2 separate regions of the Homo sapiens genome follow, and region 1 is linked to region 2. The links are contacts of gene promoters, found by promoter capture Hi-C in human tissues and cell types (Jung and others, 2019). All regions are on one chromosome and are shown on one strand. The core of a region is centred on a gene start or on the middle of the fragment in contact, and the rest is flanking DNA. Distances in the headings are between cores, read along the strand shown.

Region 1 (6,872 bases), core at 327-2,826, 93 kb after region 2:
GGGCGCAGGAGCAGAGGAGAAATGGAGAGGGCAGGCAGGACGAGGGCCGGACCACCAGGGCCAAGCCGGGCCCTGCCTCTCCCAGGCCACGTGCATGGAAGCGGCAGTGCTGTGCTTAGGGGAAACCTGGGAAGGGAGAGGCCGTGTATAAGAAGCAACCACGCTGGCGGGTTTTTTCTGGAAAGATACCTGAAGAAAGGGAGTGACGAACCGCAGAGCCTCAGGGACAGCCTCAGTGCACCGGCATAGCCGCGGTGCTTATGTATAAATTGGGATCTCTTTGCCACACACCGAAGGGGGAAAAAGTTCCCATCTTCAAATGTTAAGCTTAAAATAAGACACTACATGGTTGCCAGTGGATCTGTGAAATCTGCTGACTAAACTGGCACCAGCCTCTGGGAGAAAACCAGCTCGTTTCTCCTGAGCTCTGGGGGGCGAGCAGGGTAGGGCGAGGTGACTCCCGGGCAAAGTGGAAACAGCGTAGGGGTCAAGCTGGGGATGTGCACCTGGGCAGAAGGCAGCTTGACTGTGGTTTCCAGAAGCTTCTCAGTTGAGGCACCTGCCAGCCTTACTCGCCCCTTCCCTTCATCACTCAGGGACCCAGTTCCTAGCACATTCGCTGGCACCCTCGTTTCTATTTTGGTAAGCATTTTTAGTGGCTTCTGCATGCGTATATTTTCTTACCCACTCCATCAGACCAGGGGCTTTCCTAAGGTGTGGACTGGAACCTTCACTCCCCTTCAGACCAGGCATTTGCTTAAATGTTCAGTGCTACCAGGCGACAGCAGGGCCTTGGAGAAGCTGATGGGGCTGCAGGAAGCACTGGAGCAGCCAGCATGCTCTTTCCACACAAGACGAGGCAGTGGCCCAGGGGTGGGGAGGAGTGGTGACGGACCATGTTGCTTGTCCATGTGAAAGTGCCAAGGTGGGAGGCCCAGGTTCTTCAAATCCAGTGGTTCCTCTGGAGACTCAGCCTCTGGCTTGACTGTTCTGAACCTCAGGATACAGATATCTGGGGCTAGGAAGTGGGGATAGGTGAGCATTGTCATTTCAGTTCTGGCTGCCTCGTAGAGCTGCTGGGAGGTATCCCAGGCCATGCTCCCCATTTCGCCTCCATCAAGTATTCACACAGGATCTTGGGGGCCAGGGCATCCTCTTCTTACACCACATGCGTTTATTCACAGAAGGATGCTTGCTCCAGGCTGGGAAAGGATCGGTCCTGTTAGGACATTCACAGCATCTGCTTCAGCAATGAACCCCTGAATGGCAGGGGAGTGGATCAGCATCCAAGTCTCCCACCTGCCTACAGGGCCATAGTGACCCTGCAATGATGGGCTTGTCTAGGGTAGGGTAAGGAGAGAGTGGAAACGTATGGGGTGAGCCTCAGTAACTCCTTGTGAATGGAAGACAGTGCTGGCATCTGCTGGGTTGGCCAGTTCTTCCCACTTGATGGCAGCTGATAATTGTGTAAGGGTCCATTTGGCTTCTCAGGGAAAAATGAGCCCCACATTCAACTTTTGCCATTTCAAATACCCAGTTACCCAGTTTAACAAAGTGATGATACCACCAAATTGTATATCTTTTAAAGTGTTGATGGAATATTTATAAAAGTTATTATGGCATTCTTGTTTGCCTATCACCATTCTTCCCTTCTTTCTTACTAATAGAATCCTTATATAATTGGGGATCAACTATATACCCAGCTAAATTCTAAATGAAATGTATATACCCAGCTAAATTCTGAATGAAATATATGCAGAACATGGAATGTTGCATGGAAATTCCCAAAAGGCTCCTTAAAGAGAGGCTGTATCTTAAAGATAAATGTATTTCGGTTGGGAGATATAGCCTACTATTCTTCTTTTCTTTCTCCTCTCTGGAATGTGAATGTGATGGCTGGAACTCCAGCAGCCATCTCGGGCTATGGGGTGACTTTTTACAATAGAAGCCAGTACTGAAAATGGTGGTGTAGAAAAATGGAAGTCTGGGTTCCTGATGATATTGTGGGGGTCCTCCTTATCTCCAAACTTCTTTGACATAAGAGAGAAATAAACTATTTTGTTTAAGCCACTGTTATTTTGGACTTTGTTACATGCAGATGACCCTGATCCTAACTGACATATTCAGATACCATGCTACAAAGAAAACCACAATAAATCCCAAATGGCAAAATTTGGCAAAATTGTAGAGGTCACTTTCTCTGAAAATAAGATAAGCTAGAACATAACAAAAGAACACATTTTTTAAAACCCAACCACTTAGAATTTAAAATGTGTTCTTCTAATTGACTAAAGAGGATTTGAAATTATAATTCCAAGCTTATTTAGAAAATAACAACATAAGATCACTATATATGAAAACATATCAGATATAGCCATGTTTTAGATATATTCAGAGGCAAATTCACAGCACTAAACACTTTCATTAGAAGGAAAATAAATAAACTAAGCATTCAAGGCAAAAAGTAAGAAAACCAACCACAAACAAAGAAAGGAGGGAAAAAGGATATTATAAAAACAAAAGCATAAAAGAATAATTAGAATACAGAATTGATAAATACATCCAAGAGCTGATTCCACGACATAGCTTTCACAAATCAATCAATTGTGCAGTGGCACAATCAAAACTCACTGAAGCCTCAAACTCCTCAGCTCAAGTAATCCTCCCACCTCAGCCTCCTGAGTAACTGAGACCACAGGCGCACACCACCATGCCTGGCTAATTTTTAAACTTTTTTGTAGAGATGGGATCTCCCTATGTTGCCCAGACTGGTCTCAAACTCCTGGGCTCAAGCAATCCTCCCACCTTGGCCTCCCAAAGTACTGGGATTACACGTGTGAGCCACCACTCCTGGCCTCAGTTATTTTAATAAAGGAGATGGAGGTGTGGAGTGGAAAAAGACTCAAATCAATCAAAAGAGAGATCATTATATTTAAAGACATCAATATTTAAAACTTTTCTATAACAAAGACACCAGAGAATAAGGGAGAAACAGCTGGAGAAGAGACGTGCCATATATATAATCCAAAGGATTAATGTCCAAAATACATAAAGAGCTCTTACAAATCAACTAGAAAAATATGGCCCATGGAAGAATGGACAAAGAGTGTGAACAGGTAATTCAGAGAAGGGGGAATACAAATCACCAATAAATAGATTTAAAAAGCACCAACATCTTTTTGGTGTTTATGGAAACAAAAATTTAAAGTATAATGAGAATCTACCCCTTCTCCCATCAGATTGGCAAAAACGTTAAAAAGATGAATGAATACTAGTGTTACAAAAGCATGGAGAAATATAGTCTTTTTGAAGGGAAATTCAGCCATATCTGTTAAAGATGTAAATGTGTGTAGCTTTTTATGCAGCAAATTCACTTTCTGGAAGTGCCCTTGAGAAACCCTTATCCTTGTGCAAAAATGGCTTTACAAAGATTTTTCACAGCACAATCGTTTCTAATAGCAAATAATCGGACATAACCTCAACCCATCACACTGGAGGAGAGGGTGCCATTCAGCAGAGAAAACAAACAAATAAATAAATGAAGCCAATTGTTATGGAGGCAAACTGCTAAGTGTCATAAGCTAACCATAGATAAATAAGTATATTGTTATATTTTAATGGAAAACTCCACAAAACAAAAAAACACTTTAAATGACTTAAATGTATGCAGATATCTAGAAAAAGCCTAGAGGCACACACCAAACTTCTTACAGGGGTTACTCTGGGCAGAGATTCGGGGTTGAGGAGCATCACAAGGACCTCTACTTTTGGTTGTATTGTTTAAATTCTGAGCTGAGAGAACATTCATGTATTACTTGTATAACTTTTAAAATATTCTTTATAAAACATTCTTGGTGGTATTTTTGAATCCCAAAGAACATATTCATGTATTACTTGTATAATTTTATAAAATATACAGAGAAGATTTTTTTTTAAATCCTAGGAGATATTTCTGAACTCCAAAGATAAAGAGAAAAAATATCAAACGATTCCAGGGGAAGGGGGAAGTTTACCTAGAAAGGAAAAGAAAATCAGGCCAACTATTGTTCATGTATGAAAGAGAAAAAAAGATCTCCAGATATGCAAAGATTCAGAAAGGCATATTACCCCTATATTCTGAATATTGTTCTAAAGGGTATTCTAGCCAAACAACACACACACACACACACACACACACACACACACACACACACACACACACACACAGCCTAAATAATTGTTAAGTATAATACAGGTGTTAAGAAAGGCTTTATAAATCTGATGAAATTCCAGATGATTTCCAAAAACTTGGCAGGTGTGTGGAGGGAGGTAAAATGATCAAGTAGAGAGTAGAGTGAAATTACATGCTACAGGTCTCCTCCTATGTGGGTAGCGTTAGGTAAGTCATATTTATTATTTGACTCTTGATTATAAAGTATATATAATGCAACCTCTCTGTACTATAAAATATGACAGATGAATGGTAAGTAGAGAAAATTAGGATGCTCCCCTTCCAAACTAAAGAAACTAAAGGACTTATCCTCTAGTATAAATCAGGAGAAGAAGTGGAAACAATAACAAAGCTTAATAAAAAGCTAACAGCCACAAGAAAACCCATTTGACAGCTGGGATATGCAGTCATAACCATCAGTGGCAGAATAAATACGAATGGGTTCCATTTCTCATTAAAATTAAAGGCAGTGTTTCTCAAACTGAGTTAAATGTAAGTAGCCTTTTTATGCAGCAAAAGTAGAATTCAGCTATATTTTGTCCAAAAGAGATGTGTAATACAAAATGGCACAGAAATTAAATGACTCTGACATAAAGGTACAGGCAATGATATATAATGCAAGTCATTTAAGCAAAACAGGAATAAAAAAATTAAGAGAAAATTCAAGGCAAGAATAATCAATGAAACAGGGATATTTCGTGTGTGTGTGTGTGTGTGTGTGTGTGTGTGTGTGTGTTTGAGAGATAGAGATGATATCAAGAAGACAAAACTGTCTGAACACACCAAACACCATTGCATTGAAATCTATAAGACAACCGCAAGAAATGCAAAGAAATGAAACACACACTTGCACATACACACAATTATGGTGGGAAATTTATAAACCTTTCTCAGAATATTTCAGAACAATGTAGTAGTTTCAGGGCAACGACATAAAAATAGAGATGTGAATAATACCTCTCTCGATATATTTATATATTTTTAAATATATGTATAAAATGAAATATTTCAAGGATACAGAAAAGTCTAGAGGATAACGAGCATCCATATATGTCCAATCTTATTTCGTCAATTTTTTTGTGAAGATGTTTTTAAAAGATGAAACACTATAAATACAAATGAAGCACCCCCTGTTCTCCTGCTAAATTTCATTGCTTTCTCTCCCCAGAGGTAAACAGTATCACGAAGCCGGTGCTTATTGTTCCCATGGATGTTTTTAAGGATGCATTAAAAATGTACTCATAAACTATATATAATATTGCTTTGCATATTTTTTAACATTATATAAATGACAGAGAGCATTACTACTCTGCTACTATTTTTTCATTCAACATTGTTTTTGAGATTTATCCATATTCATAAATGTCGCCCTTGCTCATTGTTTTCTTTCCTGTGTTAAGTATTCCACTGCGTGACTAAGCCATGACTGATTCATTTTCTTGTTGATGGAATTTCAGCGGTTTCCAATTTTTTGCTATCATAAACATTGCTGCAAATATTTTCTTTTCATATTTAAATGTCCTTTTGCATATAAGGTGATGTAGAGATCTGACTTTCTTTCTTTTCCACATAGGTAGCCAGCTGTCCCAGCACCATATAATACTATTAGATGGTTTGTCCTTTTTCTCCACTGATTTGTAATGCCACCTTAGTCAAATCTTAAATTTCCATATGGGCATGTCTCCAGGTTCTCTGTTCTGTTCCACTGACATATTTGCTTATCACTGTACCAAAACCAAGTTGTCTTATAATATTTGGTAGGGTGAGTCCTCTCCCACCACCTTATTCTTGAAAATTGTCTTCACTATTCTTATCCCCTAGCTTGTATTCATGTAACTTTTCATAGCAACCTGTCAAGTTCCATAACAAATCCTGATGAGATTATGACTGAAATTACATTGAATATAGATTTTAATTTGAAGAAAACAAAATGATACAGCTCTCCACTTATTTAGATCTCCAATGTCCTTCAATAAAGTTGTATATGTTTCTCTATTAAGGTCTTGAATATTGTTTCTTGAATTTATTTTTATATCCCTTATTGTCTAAAATACTATTGTAAATGACATCTTTTATAAAAATCATATTCTAGATGTTTGTTTTAGGTTTATAGGCATACAAAATTTTTTTGTATACTTGTCTTACATCCAGAAATCTTTTAAAATAGTTCCAATAGTTTGTCTATTCTCATAAATGTTTTTCTTTCTTTCTTTCCAACTCTAATACCATTGTTTATTTTTTCATGTCTTACTGCACTTGCTAGTCTTCCAGGAAAATGTTAGATAGAAGCAACATTATCAGTCATTCTTACCCTGTCCAACACATTAAGAATTTACCTTTGTTTCATCTTTAAGACAGGTGCTTGCTATGGTTGGTTTAAATCATTTTTTATAGACACTATCAAGTTAAGAAAGTTCCTTCTAGACCTAATCTGTTGTTTTTATCATAATAATTACCGTAAATTGAGTTATGTTTTATTTTATCAAATACTTTTTCTGTATTTACTGGGGAAATCATGTTTCTCCTTCAGTTTCTCAGTGTGATCAACTAATATTAATACATTCTCTAATGTTATCATATTTGGTAAAAAGCATTTCGTTATGATGTACTTTGATGCATTGCTGGAATCAGATTGCTATTATTTTATTTCATAATTTTTACA
Region 2 (6,698 bases), core at 3,004-5,503:
TTCATCAGGTGGAGATTATAACTCATTAGGTCTCAATAACTCCATGAGGTTGAACTTATTGTGCTCTCCACAAGCACGTGTTGCTTGCCCTTGTCCTCATACCATAATGAAATGTTTGGAGCTTTTGCAAAAGCCATTTTCCTAATATGATGGGCATCCAAGTCTGGTTGCAAAGGCTTGGATAGAGGGCAAGTGAGAGAATTGGAGAGAGACTAAAAATCATTCAAGAAATTTTGTGGTGAAAAAGACAAGTCAAAAGACTGAGAGAAACATGAGGACAGAAAACTCTTTGTAAGGCAAGGAGACATAAAGATGAAGTCAGGCTGAATAGGAAAGAAGGAGGTGAAAGGTGAAAGAGAGATGGCTGGGGGTGTGGCTGGTCCAAATTCTCACAAGATCTCTGTTGGAGAAACATTGCCTGGCTTGTGCTGGTGGCGAGATGTACATAGCAGCTTCCCAGCTAGAGGGAGCAGGGAGTCATGGCCTTGTGAGGGAGACAGATGGAGACACACACAACCCCCATCGCAGGTGAATGCTATGAAAGAATGGGGTGGAGGGCTTCCCAGGGAGATGAACTGAGTTTTAAGAACGAAGTTAGCCAGCAAAGAAGCAAAAGGAAGAGGATATAGACTTGAGGATTACATCACTGGATGACTGAGCCACTGATTGGATGTGGAGGATGAGAGAGTGATGCTTTGAGGTGATTCCCAAGTTCTCCGCATGGACAAAGGCAGAGACAATAACTTGTACTGAGTGCTCTTTGGAGTCTGACATTGATCCAGTGCACCACATATGTTATCTCATTTACTCCTCACAGAGGTCCCGTATAACGCTTGCAATTTCACAGATACGCAAGCTGAGGCAAAATAATTGGCCCAGGGCTCACCACTAATAAATAGGAGAGTCTGGATTTGGGGCCAGGTTATTCCAGAAATAGAGAGAGGGAGGGAAAACGTTAATGTGGGGCCAGAGCCAGAACAGGTAGGCTAGGCTGTATCAGCCTGGGAGGCATCGGGCTATTCTCCAAAAAGTGAGGCTCCGGGTTGCAGGAGATGGGACCTCCAGGAAACTGGTGGGAGGCTGGACAGGGGCAAAGTGAAAGGTAAGCAGCCTGAAGATGGGTGGGATGTAGTGGACTCCAGCGTGAAGAGCCTCCAGTCTCTGGCAGAGCTCAGCAGCTTGGGTGGGAGGAAACGAAGGGCAGGGAGCAGAAGGTGGTGGGGGGAACGGGTTTTGGTTAAGATGGGCAGCTGTCCAGTGGTGAAGAGGGGAAGTATTTGTGTATACGATCAGTTGTGGGGGATGGTGGTAGAGGGAGCAGTATGAGAGTCTGGGAGGAACAGGGCAGGGGAGATGGCACAGGAGAAGATTGGGGTGGGGGTGGGGGCACTGATACTGAATCCAGTACACAGAGGCAGGCTTAGAGACCCCCTGAGGGTGACAAATTCTTCTCTTAACTTGCTGCAGAGGAAACGACAAGAGAATAGGTCCTAAGAGGAGTGAAAATAGAGGAAACTGGCCAAGGGATAAAGATAAGCAGAGCTATGGAAGAAAAGGAAGAAAATTAGGGAATTACTGGAGAGGAAGCTGACAGAAAGGGGCGCTGGGAGAGGAAAAGGTGAGGGAGGACGAAAACGGAACTCCTATCACCCAGCGCATTCCAGCACCCCCTCCCCCTCCCCCGGGAAGTCTGCGACTGCATCCTCACAGGGATGGAATGGGAGTGGAAGCTAGGCCAGGCTGGGACCCCGGGGCTGTCCCAGCCCAACCAAGACGGTGACCAGACTCAAGTTACTGATCCTCCGCTGTTTCTTCATCTGTAAAGTGGAGTTAATGACAGACAGCTGGATGTCAACGTTTTTTGTTGTTTGTTTTAGAGATGGGATCTCCCTGTATCGCCCAGGCTGGAGTGCAGCGGTATGATCACGGCTCACTGCAGCCTCGACCTCCTGGGCTCGAGAGATCTTCCTGTCTCAGCCTCCCGAGTAGAAATGTCAGCATTTGAATGCCTCACAAGGGAAGGTGGTGTAATAAAAGGTCTATTGATTTAGATATGAACAAGTATACCCAGAGCCACACGAATGAAAGGAGGTGGCCAGTGTAGATGCAAGTCTAGGACGGTCGGTAGATTCCAAGCTTCTCTACCTGCCCAGTTAAACAAGTTCGTGGCCCCTGGCCAGCCTCTCGGTGGGGGTCTGCGACAGAACGGGTGGGATTCATTACCAGGCTAGGAGCGCAAGGCCCTCGGGCCGGGTTCAGCTTGCTGGGCTCCTGTCTTGTCTCAGCCCCCAGCACTTGCTCTGTCACCGCAGAGCACAGGCCCAGGCAACGTTTACCCAACTGAACCCGCATCCCTGTGGGAACCTTGTTCCAACAAAATCCCGTCGTTGTCTCCTTCCATATGGAACGAAAATCTCCTTCTGTACCTCTGCCCAGCTCCGCACCCCCGCCCCCTTAGAGATACGGCCTGGTCGGGTCCTGGTCCCCCCCTCGGCGGCGCTTCCACTTTTCCCAGACTGAGGGTGGGGAAAAGGAGGAGGGGGAAGAAATCAGAGGAGGAAAAGTCGGGAGGTAGGGGAGCCGGGAGACAGGAGAGGGGGAAAATAAAGAGCCTGAGACACAAACGAGAGGAAAAGACCATCACAGAAAGCTGGAAATCTCCGGAGAGGCCAGCGAGAACCCGCGCTCCCCACGGATTCCATCATTCCTTCCGAAGGCGCCTCTGCGGTGTCTCAGCCGTGCCAGGCCCCGGGGTTCCCAGGACGCGGAGGAGTGCTGGGTGCGGCCGCCTCGCCTCCCCACCCCTGGCCGCCCCTCCCCACCTCGCCCAAGGGGGCCGGAACGGCGTCGGCGCGCGGGGGCTTTTCGGAGCAGTCGAGTGGAAAATAGACTTTAACCCGCTTTGTGGCGGCCGGGGCGCCCTGAGCGCTCTCCAAACCACGGCTCCCGGCGCTCAGGCGGGCCGCTGCCAAGACCCGGCCTGGAGTCCCCGCAGAGTTGCGCGGCGCACGGACCCCGTGGCCTTGGGGCGTCAGGAGGCCCAACCCAGATCTGCGCGCCCAGGCAGCGCTCAGGCCGCTAGAATGGACCCCGGCAGCGGCGAGGAAGCGGAACTCTCTGCGGCTCCCTCTCCGCAGTGCGCCGGCAAGGTCCAGGTCCCAGCCTCCCCACCGCCGCCCGCGCCCTCCTAGGCCTCGGAGCGGCGCCTTTCTGCGGCCTCGAAGGTGGGGTGGGAAAGTTTGGGGAGTCCCGGCTCTCACAGCCTGTCGTGAGAACTGCCCCCGGGGAATTCGTCCGCCGTACGGAAAAACTGGCCGGAGCAGAGTCGTCCGCGGTTCCGCGGTCGCGGGTGGAAGGTGAAGGTCGAGGGAGGTCAGGCTGCTTCTGCGTGTCCTGACGGCTGGCGTGTTCTCTTGAGATGGGCTCGGGCTACTTGGCCAGCTTCAATTTAAGCCACAGTGTCTCCGAGGCCCTGACCTGGTCCGGCCCGCCGACACTTGAGCCCCCAGAGCCTCAGAGAAGGCGAGGGGGTGGATCTCCCAGTGCCGAGGCCCGCCGTCCTGGTCCAAGCCGGTCGCGGCACCGTGTCTGGGCACTGGAGCTGCTTCCAGCCCCGCGAACAGCTGGAGGGTGGCAGTGGGACCGCTCCGGCGGCTTCTCCCGCGCAGTGCCCCGCCTGGCCCCTTGTGAAGGGAGTGAGCGTCCCCTTTCCAGAGCTGTCCCCCGTGACATCCAGAAAACGCGAAACCTCAGGAACAAGGTCGCAGCTTCAGACCGCGGCCCAGGAGGCCGATGGTGGGTGAGTGGGAGAGTCCCGGAGAGCAGGGGGGCAGAGAGCTGGTTTTCGGGAAAACCAATGTGTTGGACCCCAAACATCCACCCTCCGCTCGGATCCAAGTTCTCTGAGAACTGAAACGACATCCCGGGACGAATGGGAGAGTTAGGCTGAGCTACACACCGGGGAGGGGAGGGTTGGAGTTTAGCCCCAAGCCCTTCGGACGCCTTCTTCGGCTCCCGCGTGGGTTGAGACGGCGGCACGGCCACCAGACTCAGCTAAAGGGCGGAGTCGCGAGGAGAAGCCAGTGGCGAGGGGAGGAGGAGGCCTGGATCTCCCCGCGAAGGCTCCAGTCCGGCTTTTGCCTCCGACTGCGGGCTCCCTCCCCACCCGCCGTCCCTCGCCCCGCCCCGCCCCGCCCCCCACCTTGGGGCAGGTGAGCGGCGGCCAATGGGCGAGCGCGGGGCAGGTGCCCGCTAACTCGCGCCTCGCAGCGCTGGGCGGCCGGGGCTGGGCAGGGCAGTGCGGGGACACCGGGGGCTGGGGTCGGTCCCAGCGGGACTCCGAAAGGAGGGAGACGAGCTCAACCCTCGGGCCTTACTGGCAGCTCGCAGCCTAGCACGGAGCCCGCGCCTGTGCGGGCGCCTGGAGCTGCCCGCTCCGCCGCAGCAGCCGCCGCGCCTGGCCGTACGCTGTGGCCGGACCCCGCGGTCGCTCGCTCACACACCCCTCGCCGCTCCGCGCCTGGCTCGCCCGCGGGGGCCGAGCGCGAGCGGGCGGGCGGGGGAGGTGAGGGGTGCGGGCGGGTGTGCATGTGCCTGGCTGGGTGCACACCCCGCAAGGCGGCGGCGCCAGGACGCGGAGCGCTCCCCAGAGCCCGGCTGCCTCGCACAGCTCCCGCGGCTGCGACCATGTTCCAGCCCGCGGCCAAGCGCGGCTTTACCATAGAGTCCTTGGTGGCCAAGGACGGCGGCACCGGCGGGGGCACTGGCGGCGGGGGCGCGGGCTCCCATCTCCTGGCGGCGGCCGCCTCCGAGGAACCGCTCCGGCCCACGGCGCTCAACTACCCTCACCCCAGCGCGGCCGAGGCGGCCTTCGTGAGTGGCTTCCCTGCCGCGGCCGCCGCGGGCGCGGGCCGCTCGCTCTACGGTGGGCCCGAGCTCGTGTTCCCCGAGGCCATGAACCACCCCGCGCTGACCGTGCATCCGGCGCACCAGCTGGGCGCCTCCCCGCTGCAGCCCCCGCACTCCTTCTTCGGCGCCCAGCACCGGGACCCTCTCCATTTCTACCCCTGGGTCCTGCGGAACCGCTTCTTCGGCCACCGCTTCCAGGGTGAGTGTCCACGCTGTGCCCGCCGAGGCGGCCGGCCGGCGCCCGTGCTGCGGCGATGCGGGGGAGGCTCGGGGGCGCGCGGGGCTGTTTAGAAGTTACTGCCGGGAAGGCTGCAGGTCCGCGGAGGTAGATTCCCAGGCAGGGAAGAGCTGTGCGGCATCCACCCGCGCCTTCGCCGCGTAGGTCTCCCTCCCAGGAAAGCAGGTGGAGACCTCCAGGCTTTTCTAGAAAATATACCAGTTCGGACGCAAGCCCAGGCGCGTCCTCGGAGCCTGTGCTGGCCCTCGCCACAGCCTGCCCAATTCTCTCTCCCAGCTGAGCCAGTCTCAGACCAGAGTACAACTCCTCCCGCTCTCCCTCCGCCCGGCTTAACCTCGCACCACGCTTCTCTCGCAAGTCCACCACCACCTCCGAGACCTCAGCCTTCGCTGGCGCGTCCGGGCGGGGGAAAGTCCATTCGCGTGCCCCAGCTCTGGGGGAAGCAAGGGCAGCAGGGAGGGCGAATCGGAGAGTTAATGTTCAGTGTGGAGGGCCTGGCTGTCTTGGGATGTTTCTCGGCAACCTTGGCCCGACTTCTCCAAGTCACACGTGCCTCTCCTACCCAAGGTGGGGAAGGTTTGCAGTAAGCAAACTGGCTTCCGCCGTTGCTCGCCGCCTTCGGGAGGGAGCCCACCCGGCTGCTGGAATACCGAGGACAGTTTTCCCGGGCAGGGGGCGGGGGCAGAGGGCTTTTAAGGTCGTAGCCAGTCCGAACCCCGGAGTTTGCATCCAGCAATCGGCTTGCTAATAAAGATCCTCCACTGGCCCTACACACACACACACACACACACACACACACACACACACGTTTCAATTATTTGTCTTTCCCGGAGAAAAGAGAGTTGCATTTGTTGGAGTTCGTTTTCTTCCTTGAAATTTGTTGGAGTTTGTTTTTTTCTTTTCTTTTTTTTTAAATTTTATTTTAAAGAGTGGCCTTGATTTGTACAGGCATCACTTTAGTTTCCAGTTTTATTTTGTTAGTGTAGACCAGACCACAGCCTTGTGAGAAGGGTCTATGGCTCAGAGCTAGGTAACCCGGCTTTTAGAGAAACAAATGAAAGGGACATGGCTGGAGCTTCGGCTCCAGGAGCTAATGTGACGGTCTGTAGTCTAGGTCTACAGTCAATTAGATGTTTGGCACAGTTGTTTAGATAATAAAATGAAAATTATCTCTTGACACTTTGACTTTCACAGAAAACCGCTTTCCCAGGTCCCGATTTGTCAGGCAATTTTTTCAGTCCCACCTGGCCAATAGATGCTGACCTGGCAGATACCACAAAACCAGAGAATGTAATTACTAGAATAAGAATTGTTGTGGGTAGCCTTGCCTCCTCTTTGAAGATTTCAAAGACTTGCCCAAATCCAAATCCGAAAAAACAAAAATGCTACAATGTCATCTGCCTTGGGCAAGAGTTTCTGCCACTTAAAAATAAATGTTTACTGATAACATGAGGATATCTTTAAAATTGAGCAATCTACCCTGGTCCTCCGTGGGCTCGATCCGAAGCCTGGGTCTCGAAACCTGGCGCCCAGGGGCCGAGTTGTAGTTGGG

Evidence for each region. The method cuts DNA at HindIII sites, captures the fragments that hold promoters and counts their contacts. A contact is called where the count stands out against the background at its distance.
Region 1: a contact is called between a fragment that was not itself captured here and the fragment with the promoter of EMX1 in region 2, in 2 of the 25 tissues and cell types used here (H1 embryonic stem cells and liver).

What each region holds. Positions count from the first base shown.
Region 1 is chr2:73,008,499-73,015,370 of GRCh38, forward strand. All of the region lies in intron 6 of SFXN5 (sideroflexin 5), which reads right to left. LOC107985897 (a long non-coding RNA gene) reads right to left here. Exons shown (of 2, transcript XR_001739535.2): 1 at 685-6,872. Among named protein-coding and RNA genes, the nearest start is that of SFXN5, 60 kb to the right of the region's middle. The HindIII fragment of the contact is 3,728 bases long and covers 1-3,440 here.
Region 2 is chr2:72,913,266-72,919,963 of GRCh38, forward strand. It overlaps EMX1 (empty spiracles homeobox 1), which reads left to right and starts at 4,254. Exons shown (of 3, transcript NM_004097.3): 1 at 4,254-5,107. The coding sequence starts at 4,588. RefSeq lists silencers at 2,740-2,909, 4,050-4,469, 4,540-4,659 and enhancers at 3,001-3,618, 3,619-4,235. The HindIII fragment of the contact is 9,258 bases long and covers 134-6,698 here.